4 separate regions of the Homo sapiens genome follow, and all the other regions are linked to region 3. The links are contacts of gene promoters, found by promoter capture Hi-C in blood cells and fetal thymus (Javierre and others, 2016). All regions are on one chromosome and are shown on one strand. The core of a region is centred on a gene start or on the middle of the fragment in contact, and the rest is flanking DNA. Distances in the headings are between cores, read along the strand shown.

Region 1 (2,700 bases), core at 75-2,574, 190 kb after region 3:
TCCCCTCCCTTTCCTCCTCCTCCCTCATGCCCTCGCACACCTCAGGGCAGCTTGCCTGAGGCATTGATGGTAGGTCCTGCTGTGCCTGGTCCCTGGCTGGTAGAGTGAGGATGAGGGCAGGGAAGGGAAAACACCCAACAAAGGTTTGCTTTTGTTGTTGAAATCAAGCCAGTTACCCTGTGGGAAGTGAAGCTTGCTCCCACCATAGAACTCTGGGCAATGATGTAAAGCACACACCTCACCTCAGATATGTCTCACAGCAGGGGCCGGGGAACTGGGATATTTGTACACCAGTTCCCATCAGCCACCAGCTGCTGCTGCTCCTGGGCACTGATTCCGCAGCACTTCTGGCTGGTGGGCAAAGCAGGCAGGAAAAGGCATACGGATATGGGGGGTTGGGAGTTCACCCTGTGGGAAGGGCAGAGGGAGAGGCGCCAGACACTAAGAGCCAGGGCTGTACACAGGGACCCTTCAGGTCAACAGCTCTTTATTAAACACCTGCTGCCTGCTCTAGGCCAGATCCTAGAGACGCAGGGTGAGCAAGACCCGTCTCTGTCCCTGAGCTCTTGGTTGGTTGGGAGGTGGCCCTTAACCAGATCATCAGCACACATGGTAAGGAGTGTGTGACGGAGGGAAGGGCAGTGCCCTGGGAGCAGGATGAAGGATGGGGCTGGCAGGGCAGGAGACCAGATCTGAACAGAGCCTGGAGGGTCTTAGTCAAGGAGGGCAGAAGAAGGCATACAGAGTGGGGCCAGGTGAGTCAAAGCCTGAGGCTCGGGGAGGGGCTGGGGAGCACGGAGCCCGCCCCTAGCCTGCTGGCAAGAGCTGTAGGAATCATGTCCGGAGTAGGGAACAGGGCTGAGTCTGGGCCTGTTAGCCTCAAGGCACATAAGGCACATAAGGGCCAGGCTGGGCTTTTCCTGGAGCCCTTGCCGCTCTGTGGCTCTCAGTCTGGGGCCTTAAGCCTGACCCAGGGCCTTCTCCCAGGCTCTGTCCCTGGGCTCATTAAGCCTGGTTGTTCCAGAAGCTCAGTACCCCACCAGGCAGCTCCTGCCTGCACTGATGCCCCTAGAAACCAGCCCTCCCGCCCGCCCCCGCTCACATGGACAGTGGTGCTACTGATCACTGTGACCAGAACTGACCCACAGGACACAAGGAGCTAACATGGTAGAGCTGTCACAGTTGGGCAGTGGTGTTACTGCCCCTCGAGGGAGTGAAATAGCAGGCCTGTGGCTCCCTGCCAAGCTGCGCGCATGGTAGACTGGGCTGCACAGGAAAGGAAAGACCCTGCCATTTATGAAGCCCTGTGGAGGGTGCTGGGCACAGTTCTCTCATTCCATCCTTTAAGGCAGGTATAATCAGGCCCATTTCACAGAAGAGGAAACAGAGGCCCAGAGAGGAAAAGTGACTTGCCCACGGTCACAGAGCTCATAAGCAGGGGAGCTGGGAATTGCAGCCTGGGGTTTGTCTGATTCCAAATCCGGGGCTCTTTACCTCCCCACTTGGTAATAAAGGGTGCTGGTGCTGCATTCTGCTTCTGTTCTTGGCTTCCTTCTCCATAGAGCAGAGTGGTAGAACACATAACCTCCCTGTGCCTCAGTTTCCTCATCTGTCAAGGATGGTGACAGGGGCAGGTATGCAGAGGCACAGCGCAGACGACGCCACCATGCTACCTGCTTGCTGATTAATGATAGGGTGTCCAAGCCAAAAAATAAAACTAAACATTAAAAAATAAAACAATACAGCGTAATAACGGCAACAAGAAAAAGCCTTTTTGAGCTGGGCCGTCTAACCAGGTGTCCCCAACACCCTGTCTGGAGTGCCTGGAAAAGGAGCCCCTGTGAGAACAGGAAGTCCTCTCTCGACAGAGGGACACCAAGAAAACGCAGCCAGGTCCAACAGCCCGCTGGCTCCCATGCTGGGTACCGGCCAGGACACCAGGGCTGAGCGGGGCATGCGAAGGGAGATGAAAGGTGACTGCACTGAGGATTTGCCCTGTGTACTCGCCTCTGCAAGATCCACATCTCAGCTGCACAACTGGCTGGCTTGTGTGTGAGCCTCAGTTTTATCATCAGTAAAATGGGGGAATAATCATATCCAGCTCAGAGGTTTAACTTCAGCCTAGTGCACGGAAGACATGGTAAATGGTCATCGCTTCTCCCTTGAATGGACCGAGGGCCCCCGACTCCCATAGCACTACCCCATAAAGTCTAGGCTCCCGACTTCGGCATTCAAGGCCTTCAGTGATAAATCCAGGCCCACCATCCGTCCCCACACCACCTTTCACACACCCCCTGCCCCCACCCTCGCAGGCCTCTTATTTTAGCTGCACATGCTCTCCCTGCCTCCGAAATGCTTGCGGCCTTTCCTTTCCATTTATTGACGCCCTTGTGTTCTCTCTGAGCAGCCCTTCCCTGTGTCCCTAGCTGGAGTTCCTCACTCCCTCCTCAGTGTCCTGAAGCTTCTTGTTAGAGCTGCTGCAGCCACTGCGTGTGTCTGACAGCAAGTCTGCAGCCTCTGCCTCCCTTGCGGGACTGCAGGTGACTTGAAGGCACAGCCTGGTTCCCAGGAGGCTGGCTTTCGTGCCACTGGCCCCAGGGCTGAAGGCAGGCCAGCTCCAGCCACCTGCTGAGTCTCCTAAGTCCAGAGTGTCAGAGACCTCAAGAGACTCTCACCCACTGACCCACCTGGGGACTCTGG
Region 2 (2,926 bases), core at 282-2,781, 210 kb after region 3:
AAAACTGGATATCAATATGCAGAAAAATTAAACTAGACTATCTCTTGCCATGTATAAAAATGAATTCAAAATGGATTAAAGATTTAAATCTAAGACCTCACACTATGAAACTACTAAAAGAAAACATTGGGGAAACTCTCTAGAACACTGTATTAGGCAAAGATTTCCTGAGTAATACCAACACACACAGGCAACCAAAGCAAAAATGGAGAAATGGGATCATATCAAGTTAAAAAGCATCTGCACAACAAAGGAAGCAATCAAAAAAGTGAAGAGGCAACCCACAGAATGAGAAAAAATACTTGCAAACTATCCATCTGACAAGGGATTATTAACCAGAATATATAAGGAATCAAACAACTCTATAGGAAAAAAAATCTAATAATATGATTTTAAAATGGGCAAAAGAGCTGAATAGGCATCTCTCAAAAGAAGACATCCAAATGGCAAACAGGTATACGAAAAGGTGCTCATTATCATTGACCATCAGAGAAATGCAAATCAAAACTACAATGAGATATCATCTCACCACAGTTAAAATGGCTTTTATTTAAAAGACAGGTAATAACAAATGCTGGCAAGGATGTGGAGAAAGGGGAACCTTTGTACACTGTTGTTGGAATGTAAATTAGTACAACCACTATGTAGAACCATTTGGAGATTCTTTTAAAAAACTAAAAATAGAACTATGAGATGATCCAGCAATCTCACTGCTAGGTATATACCCAAAAGAAAGGAAAGCAATATATTGAAGAGATAGTCACGCTTCCATGTTTATTGCAGCACTATTCACAACAGCCAAGATTTGGAAGCAACCTAAATGTCCATCAACAGACAAATGGAAAAAGAAAATGTGGTACATATACACAATAGAGTACTATTCAGTCATCAAAAGAATGAGATCCTCTCATTTGCAACAACATGGATGGAACTGGAGGCCATTATGTTAAGTGAAATAAGTGAGGTACGGAAAGACAAATTCCACTTATTTTCATGTCCTCACTTATTTGTGGGAGTTAAAAATTAAAACAACCAAACTCATGAGAGATAGAGAGTAGAAGGTTGGTTACCAGAGGCTGGGAAGTGTTGTGGGGAGTGGGGAGGAAGGAAAGATGGTTGACGGGTATAAAAATATAGTTAGATAGGATGAATAGTATTTGATAGTACAACAGAGTGGCTACAGTCAACAATAATTTATTGTACATTTTAAAATAAGTAAAAGAGTATAACTGGATTGTTTGCAACACAAAGGATAAATGCTTGAGGTGGCAGATACCCCATTACCCTGACATGCATTGTGTGCCTGTATCAAAATATCCCATGTACCCCATAAAAATATATGCCTACTATGTACCCACAGAAATTAAAAACAAAAAAGAAAATGGGACAGAACAGATAAGAAAACTAGAGGCTTCACTTAGAAATTTAATATCTGATGAATAGGAATTCTAGAAAGAGAAGAGAGAAAACAGGGAGGAGGAAAATTTATCAGAACAGAAGTGTATGGATCATCTAAGACAAAGGGCTCCCTAGAGGCTCAACAAGATGACTAAAGGAAGACCCACACCAAGGGACATCACTATGGAAATTAAGTCACTGAGGATAAAAGGAAGACCCTAGAAGCCTCCAGAGAAGAGTAATGGGGCATGCACTAAGGTCCAGGAGTCAGAAAGGCACCAGACTTCTTTAGAAGACCGAAGACAGTGATGTAATGCCTCAAACTTCTGAGGGAAAGTGATTTCTTTTTTTAAACAAAATTATTTTTACATCATCAAAAAGCATCAAGTGAGGAACATAACTTGTAACCTAAAATTCTATACCCAAGCAAAGTACAGATCAAATATGAAAACAAAATAAAGTGATGCTTTAAGAAATCTACACCTTCAAGTACTTATCTTCCACATCTCTTTTTAAAGAAGCTATTGGAAGATATGCTCCACCCAAATGGAGGAGGAAACTGAAAAAGAGGAACTCCAGTAGAAGAGAAAGGTGTAAGATATTCCCGGGAAGATGAGGATAGGATGTCTCCAGATGACAGCGGTGTATTGAGCCCAGAGAGGAGCCAACCTAGAGTGCAGAGGGGGGTCCTGAATATCTGTCAATAACAAAAGGGAATCATACCAAAAGGAGGTTCTATTAGTTTGAGATGAGTTAATACTAGGCACATAGAAAACTAAGTTAAAAAGAGAGACAATTACTAGTGCCAAGAATGAGAAAATGTACAAAAGTAGTAGGTATGTTGCCCTTTTGTCATAATTTACATAATAATAACAATAGAAGCATTGAATATTGATTTAATTCCCCCAAATCATGAGGTAACTATTTTGGAAGGGTCAGGAGAGATGTGTGTTATATCTTCTTCTTGTTCTTTTTTTTTTTTTTTTTTTTGAGGTGGAGTTTCGCTCTTGTTGCCCAGGCTGGAGTACAATGGCGCTATCTTGGCTCATTGCAACCTCCGCCTCCCCAGTTCAAGCGATTCTCCTGCCTCAGCCTCCTAAGTAGCTGAGATTACAGGCACCCGCCACCACACCTGGCTAATTTATATATTTTTAGTACAGATGGGATTTCACCATGTTAGCCAGGCTGGTCTCAAACTCCTGACGTCAGGTGTTTGTTTTTTTTGAGACTGAGTTTTGCTTTTTGGCCCAGGCTGGAGTGAAGTGGTGTGATCTTGGCTCACTGCAACCTCCGCCCCCTAGGTTCAAGTGATTCTCCTGCCTCAGCCTCCTGAGTAGCTGGGACTACAGGCGCACACCACCATGACCAGCTAATTTTTGTATTTTTAATAGAGACAGGGTTTCACCATGTTGGCCGGGCTGGTCTTGAACTCCTGACCTCAGATGATCCACCCACCTTGGTCTCCCAAAGTGCTAGGATTACAGGTGTGAGCCACCTCGCCCGGCCATATCTTCATATTTCATAGGAA
Region 3 (2,700 bases), core at 133-2,632:
GGGTCAAGAGTGCTACAAAAACAGAGAGCTGGGTTGGGCAATGCCTGCTGACTCACCACAATCCAGTCATGTCAGTCTTTGATCAGAATCTCACTCACCAAGGACTTTCCTGTTCAGGGACTTTCAAGAGGTTGTTCCTTCTTCCTAGAATGTTTTTCCTCACATTCTTTCTTCTGGGAGAGTCCTACTCATCTTTCTGATTTCAATTTAAATATGACTGTCTCAGAGAGACATTTCTCATAAAGAGAAAAACCTGTATTCAGAAAGTCTGAGGCATTCCTTGACACTCACCATAAAATCAAAATGTGATGTATTTGTTAAACACTCTTATAGTGCCTTGTGTTTTCCTTAACAACACTTATCAGGGTCTGCATTTAGTTGTATGATTATTTGGTTACTGACTGATCCCCTCACTCAACTAGACTGAAGTACTCTGAGAACCAGAGCTACTTCTGCCTTATTCATTACAGCATCTCTATCACTTAACATACTCTCTGATGCATAGTATGGGCACAATGAACATCTGTAGGTTGAGTAACAAATATTTGTCAAGCGAGCGAGTAAATGAATAAATCAAGCAAAAAGCACAGAAGAGAAGTTTATAGTTCTCAACAGACCAAGACAAAAACATCTCGGATTCTGAGGAAACATATCACCCTTCAAACACTTTCTGTAGCGACCTCACACCTTCACAGCCACTACACTGTTTTTGCCCATGCTTCCTCACTTGCCCCTCACACAGATAGCCCCATGAGATAAAACAGAGTAGGCTTATCATAGGCATCTGACAGATGTGCCCACCGCCTCTTGTATTTCCTTCTTAACATTCATCACATCACAAAGACTTTCTCCCTCCAGACTTGTAAGCTCCTAGTGACACGGACCGATTCTTGTTCACCACAGGATCCCTATTGTGTTGCATGAACAAGAAGTAGAGTATCTCCAAAGAGTTGTCTAAGGTGACAATAAACACGGCCAATGAAAAGAAACCACTTTTTGTTGAACATCTATGTACCAAACCAAGTCAGTAAGGTAGGTACCATTCTGCGGATAAGTACCGTATACTTAAGTTCAGAGAGGTGAAATTACTCGCTCAAAGTCACGCAGAATAAACGTCACTCTGAACCCTGCATCTCAGTCCCACCTGCTGCAGTAGAGACGCCATCTCTTCCTGCAATGGGGTCAACGGCTTGGAGACTACAGGTGGCCGCTGCAGGCACAACGCGCCCAACAAGCGCCATGGGGATCCGTTGCTTGAGGGTGCGGCTGCAAGAGCCAGGCTGCGAGAGCTTAGACTGCCGGCCCAGAGCCTCTCGAACCGCCGCCAACCCCCCGCCACCCCTAACAGCGTCCGCCTTACGGGCGCCGCCATCTTTCGTTCTCCCACAATGCACCGCGGCTCCCAGGGATCCCTCAGCCGCGGGAGCGGCAAACTAGGGGAAAGCTCAGTCCCGGAACTGCTAGAACGAACCATTCGCATATGGAGGGGGTGACCCACCATCTCAGAACATTAAAAAAGGGAAAGAATCCCCTGGTGAACTACAGTGAAAGTCTTATTGAGCATTTAAATGGAAATAAAAATATTCAGTGGACCTAATGAAGAGTAGATGACTTTCCCTTCTGTCCCCTCCCCGACAGGCACTCATGGTACCGGCGCCGGCGCAGCTGTGACTGTCGCTGCAGACGGAAACTGACTGGGGTCAATTCAAGTCATGCAGGCTGTGAGAAACGCGGGGTCGCGGTTCCTGCGGTCCTGGACTTGGCCCCAGACAGCCGGGTAACAAATGACTGCCCCCTCGAGCCCACCGCCACCTCCAGGACTATGCTCCTACTCGTGTCCCTTGAGCCACCCGGGCCCCAGTGACCGTTAGGCCGTGGCCCTCACCGAGCTTTTCTTCCCAGCAGGGTCGTGGCCAGAACGCCGGCCGGGACCATCTGCACAGGCGCTCGACAGCTCCAAGACGCTGCGGCCAAGCAGAAAGTTGAACAGAACGCGGCTCCCAGCCACACCAAGTTCAGGTGAGCCCCACTTGGACCAGCCCTCTGGAGACCCGCAACCCCTGACTCTTGCCCGACACCCTCCAGAGTCAGAACCAGTGAATTTTCAGCTATGTCACTTGCTATCCGTGGGACCTTATGCAAATAAATCTGAGCCTCAGCCTTCTCATCTAAAAATGCGGATAATGCTGAGAGAGGTTGTGAGAATCAGATGAGCCGTGGTACAGAGTAAATGTTCAGTGAACATTCGTTAAATCAATGAGTGAATGTGAGATATCCATAACATGTATCAGCGTTCTTTTCTTCTGAGATGGAGATCTTTTCAGACCAATAACCTTCCCTGCCTCCAAAACAAAATGGGGAGGTAGAGGGCGCTAGCGATGGAACAGATGTTCCTGCACGTCTTACGGATGGTCCAGGGTGGGTTTTGTGCTCAGCCCTAGGAACTGGCATCTTGCTTCCCACCAGTGCCACCACCTCTGTATGCTGTATACACATCCACTTAACTTCACATCCATTTAACAAACATTTACCAAGAATCTACTATGAGTGAGACACCATGCTAGGTGCCGTGAATACAGATACAAAAGATCATTCCTCCCCACAAGTAGTTCACAGTCTTTGAGGGAAGACAAACATGCAAACATTTTAACCATAATCTGCTCAATAATATAATGGAGGTAAGCATTGGTTGGAAGTATG
Region 4 (2,700 bases), core at 20-2,519, 220 kb after region 3:
CAACAGATGAAAGGAGTACTCAGACACAGGTATGCAGTGTAAGAGCAGCTAGGGGACGGCCAAAGAGTGAGCAGTCCTGATAAGCTGGAGCTGCTTGCTTTTATTCAGTATAGATATAATGCCAAAGCCTGGAGCCAACACAATCTTATGTTAATGTGGGTAATTAATATTATTGTTTCCCCTTATAGGGAGCAGTCACACACAGATGATCAAAAGTGAGTTTCTAGACAACATGAGTAAACAAGCCTATTTAGATAAATTCCCCCACTCCCTTGTACCTACTCCTCGCCCTCTGCCTCAGGGTAAGAGAACAGCTGCCTTCAGCTTCTTCTCCCCTGAAACTTTGCAGAACCTTCCGACCTTTCAGAAGTCCTGCTCCTTTCCCTATAGCTTCTTCTACCACTCTATCCACTCCTCCACATCAGGCTGGGGATTGTTGGACCTTAGATTTTATGTACATTTTGAAAGAGCAGTCCTAGGATTTTGATTTCTCCTGTGGAGACTTGCTTTTTTTTTTTTTTAATCCAAAGATCATGTGAGGATGAATATGCAGCCCTGTCGTCTCCTATTGCTGATAGGCGGGATTTTTCCTTATCTAGCTTTGCTCTGAGGCTGCAGACTCCTGTGGTCCTGGCTTTACAGAAGTGTCTCTGGTCCAGCTTCTTGCCTCATGCCATCCTGAAGCTTCATTTCCTGACCCATGTGGCCATAAAGACCTCACCTCTAGAATGCCAGGCTCAGTTCTCCCTTCTACGTCTTACCCAAGCATCAGTAACATCAACTCTGCCATTTATGATCTATGGGATCCTTGAGTAAATCATTTAATCCAAAAGCTCCTTCTCCTCTTTTTTGCCTTGTTAACTCTAACTTTTCCTTTAAGGTGATAACTCCAATATCACCTCCTTCAGGAAGCCTTCCCAGATTCCACCAGCTCCATCTCCCATGGCTTCCAGACTCACACTTCTGATCCTTCACCCTACTGTGGAGTGGCATGGTGTGGCCAGGACACCACAAGCTCCTCGATCTTCCCAAGAATAACAGTGAGGCAAAGAGAAAGGGAGGTAATGAAGGAGCAGCAGATAGGGCCAGCTTGGAGGGCCTGAATGCCAGGGAAGAAGTCAAATTTTTGCTGTCGGTGATGCTACTTCATTGAAGTTATTTAAGATTGGGATGTGGAGGGTCATTCCATCAGATGTCCACTTTTGAACTGTTATTCTGCCTGCTGGAAAACAGGAAAACAGCCAAGAAGCTGGGTGGCCAGTTTGGGGGTAATTTTACAGTCCAGGTGTGTGATGGTGGGCCTTGAGCAATGGCAGCTTGGGGATGGAGGGTGGGGGCAGATTTGTGAAATACTCAGGGAGCAAACATCCAAAAGTCTTGATGGTGTGGAGGGGCCAAGAATGCCAGACATTCGAACCTCCCAAGAGCAACTGCAGCCTTACTTCTCTCTCCTGCTCCCTTAACCATCCTCAGGGCCCCTCCTGGGTGCTCCCAGCACCCTCAGAGCACCAATACACCGAGTGTTTTGGGTAGGAAGTCTAAGAAAGGCTACACAAGCTGAGGCTTCAGAGAGGAGGACTTGGCTCCTGCCTCTGTGGTCTCCTGGAGGGGCCTCCTCGAATAAATGTATTCATCCTTCTCCTACCTGTGCCTGGGTGCTTGGCTTGTATGTTTCAAGATGGTTTGAATTTTTTCAAAAAATTAAAATTCTCTGACAGGCGAGCCAATCCCGGTGAATGACCACACAGTGAAAGGTGACAAGGGCTTCTTTCACGGGCCCCAGCTGCACTGAGCAGGCTGGGCGGCTGGAGGGAGCTCTCCATGAATCAGCCTATGTTAGAAGGTCAGTCTCTTGAAGCTTTGCTCTGCCCCAGGGCGTCTGATTGAACAGAGGCAGCAGCATATATGATGACACGTGGCAGGGGAATCTGTGTTGTCTTGAGTGACAGACTCTCCCTTCCGTGATTACTGATTTAAGTTATACATTCAACCAACTCTGTTGTGTCCATGTTCTGCCAGGGACTGTTCTAGCCCTAGAGACCCAGTGGTGAGAGCAGAAACCAGGTGCCAGATGACAAATACATCAACAAGCACCATAACAAGGTAACTGTGGGTGGTGATAAGCACTACAAGCGAAACAAAACAGGGTCTTGGGATGGACAGTGGTGGGAGGATGTTACTTTGGGAAGGGTCCCTCTGTAGAGGTGACATTTCAGCTGAGAGCAGAAGGGCGAGAAAGAGGTGGCCATTTCCCAAGCAGAAGGAACAGCTTGTGCAAAAGCTTTGAGGAGGGAACAAGCTGGCCACGCAGAAGAGAGCTGTGGGATTCGGAGAGCTAAGTGTGTCCATGGAAACAATGAGCATCGGCGATCGAATGCGACAGGAAGTGAGTGAGCCCAATACGTGTGGCTCCATGGTTCCCCAGTGATAGGCAACCAAGACAGCAAAAGGTCTGGAGATGGAGGCAAATTTGAGGTATGAACTGAGGGAGGCTTTATTTATTCATTGATTAAACAACCATTTACCAAGTGCTTACTGTGTGCCAAGCATTAGAGACTTAACAAGCCAAGCCCAGCTCCTGCTCTTAAAGGGAGCACCTAGCTTAATGCAGAGACACTTAGGCTAGAGAATGTGATAGGAGGAGACCCAAGCTCTGCAGAGGACTCTCCAGTATAAAACAGATTGGGTTTGCTTCTGTGC

What was found. The method cuts DNA at HindIII sites, captures the fragments that hold promoters and counts their contacts. A CHiCAGO score of 5 or more calls a contact.
Region 1: a contact is called between a fragment that was not itself captured here and the fragment with the promoter of MRPL46 in region 3, in 8 of 17 cell types (activated CD4 T cells, naive CD4 T cells, non-activated CD4 T cells and 5 more). The highest score is 11.5, in activated CD4 T cells.
Region 2: a contact is called between a fragment that was not itself captured here and the fragment with the promoter of MRPL46 in region 3, in 8 of 17 cell types (activated CD4 T cells, total CD4 T cells, naive CD4 T cells and 5 more). The highest score is 10.3, in activated CD4 T cells.
Region 4: a fragment that was not itself captured here is called in contact with the fragment with the promoter of MRPL46 in region 3 in 2 of 17 cell types (activated CD4 T cells and naive CD4 T cells); the score reaches 5.6 in activated CD4 T cells.

Annotation. Positions count from the first base shown.
Region 1 is chr15:88,652,627-88,655,326 of GRCh38, forward strand. The region is part of intron 3 of ISG20 (interferon stimulated exonuclease gene 20); the gene reads left to right. Among named protein-coding and RNA genes, the nearest start is that of ISG20, 15 kb to the left of the region's middle. The HindIII fragment of the contact is 2,269 bases long and covers 191-2,459 here.
Region 2 is chr15:88,670,966-88,673,891 of GRCh38, forward strand. No RefSeq gene overlaps it. Among named protein-coding and RNA genes, the nearest start is that of ISG20, 33 kb to the left of the region's middle. The HindIII fragment of the contact is 5,777 bases long and covers 1-2,926 here.
Region 3 is chr15:88,466,006-88,468,705 of GRCh38, forward strand. It overlaps MRPL46 (mitochondrial ribosomal protein L46), which reads right to left and starts at 1,383. Exons shown (of 4, transcript NM_022163.4): 1 at 1,145-1,383. The coding sequence starts at 1,372. It overlaps MRPS11 (mitochondrial ribosomal protein S11), which reads left to right and starts at 1,703. Exons shown (of 6, transcript NM_022839.5): 1 at 1,703-1,777; 2 at 1,903-2,019. The coding sequence starts at 1,713. RefSeq lists enhancers at 1-917, 1,384-1,553. The HindIII fragment of the contact is 6,788 bases long and covers 1-2,700 here.
Region 4 is chr15:88,688,667-88,691,366 of GRCh38, forward strand. No RefSeq gene overlaps it. Among named protein-coding and RNA genes, the nearest start is that of ISG20, 51 kb to the left of the region's middle. The HindIII fragment of the contact is 1,174 bases long and covers 683-1,856 here.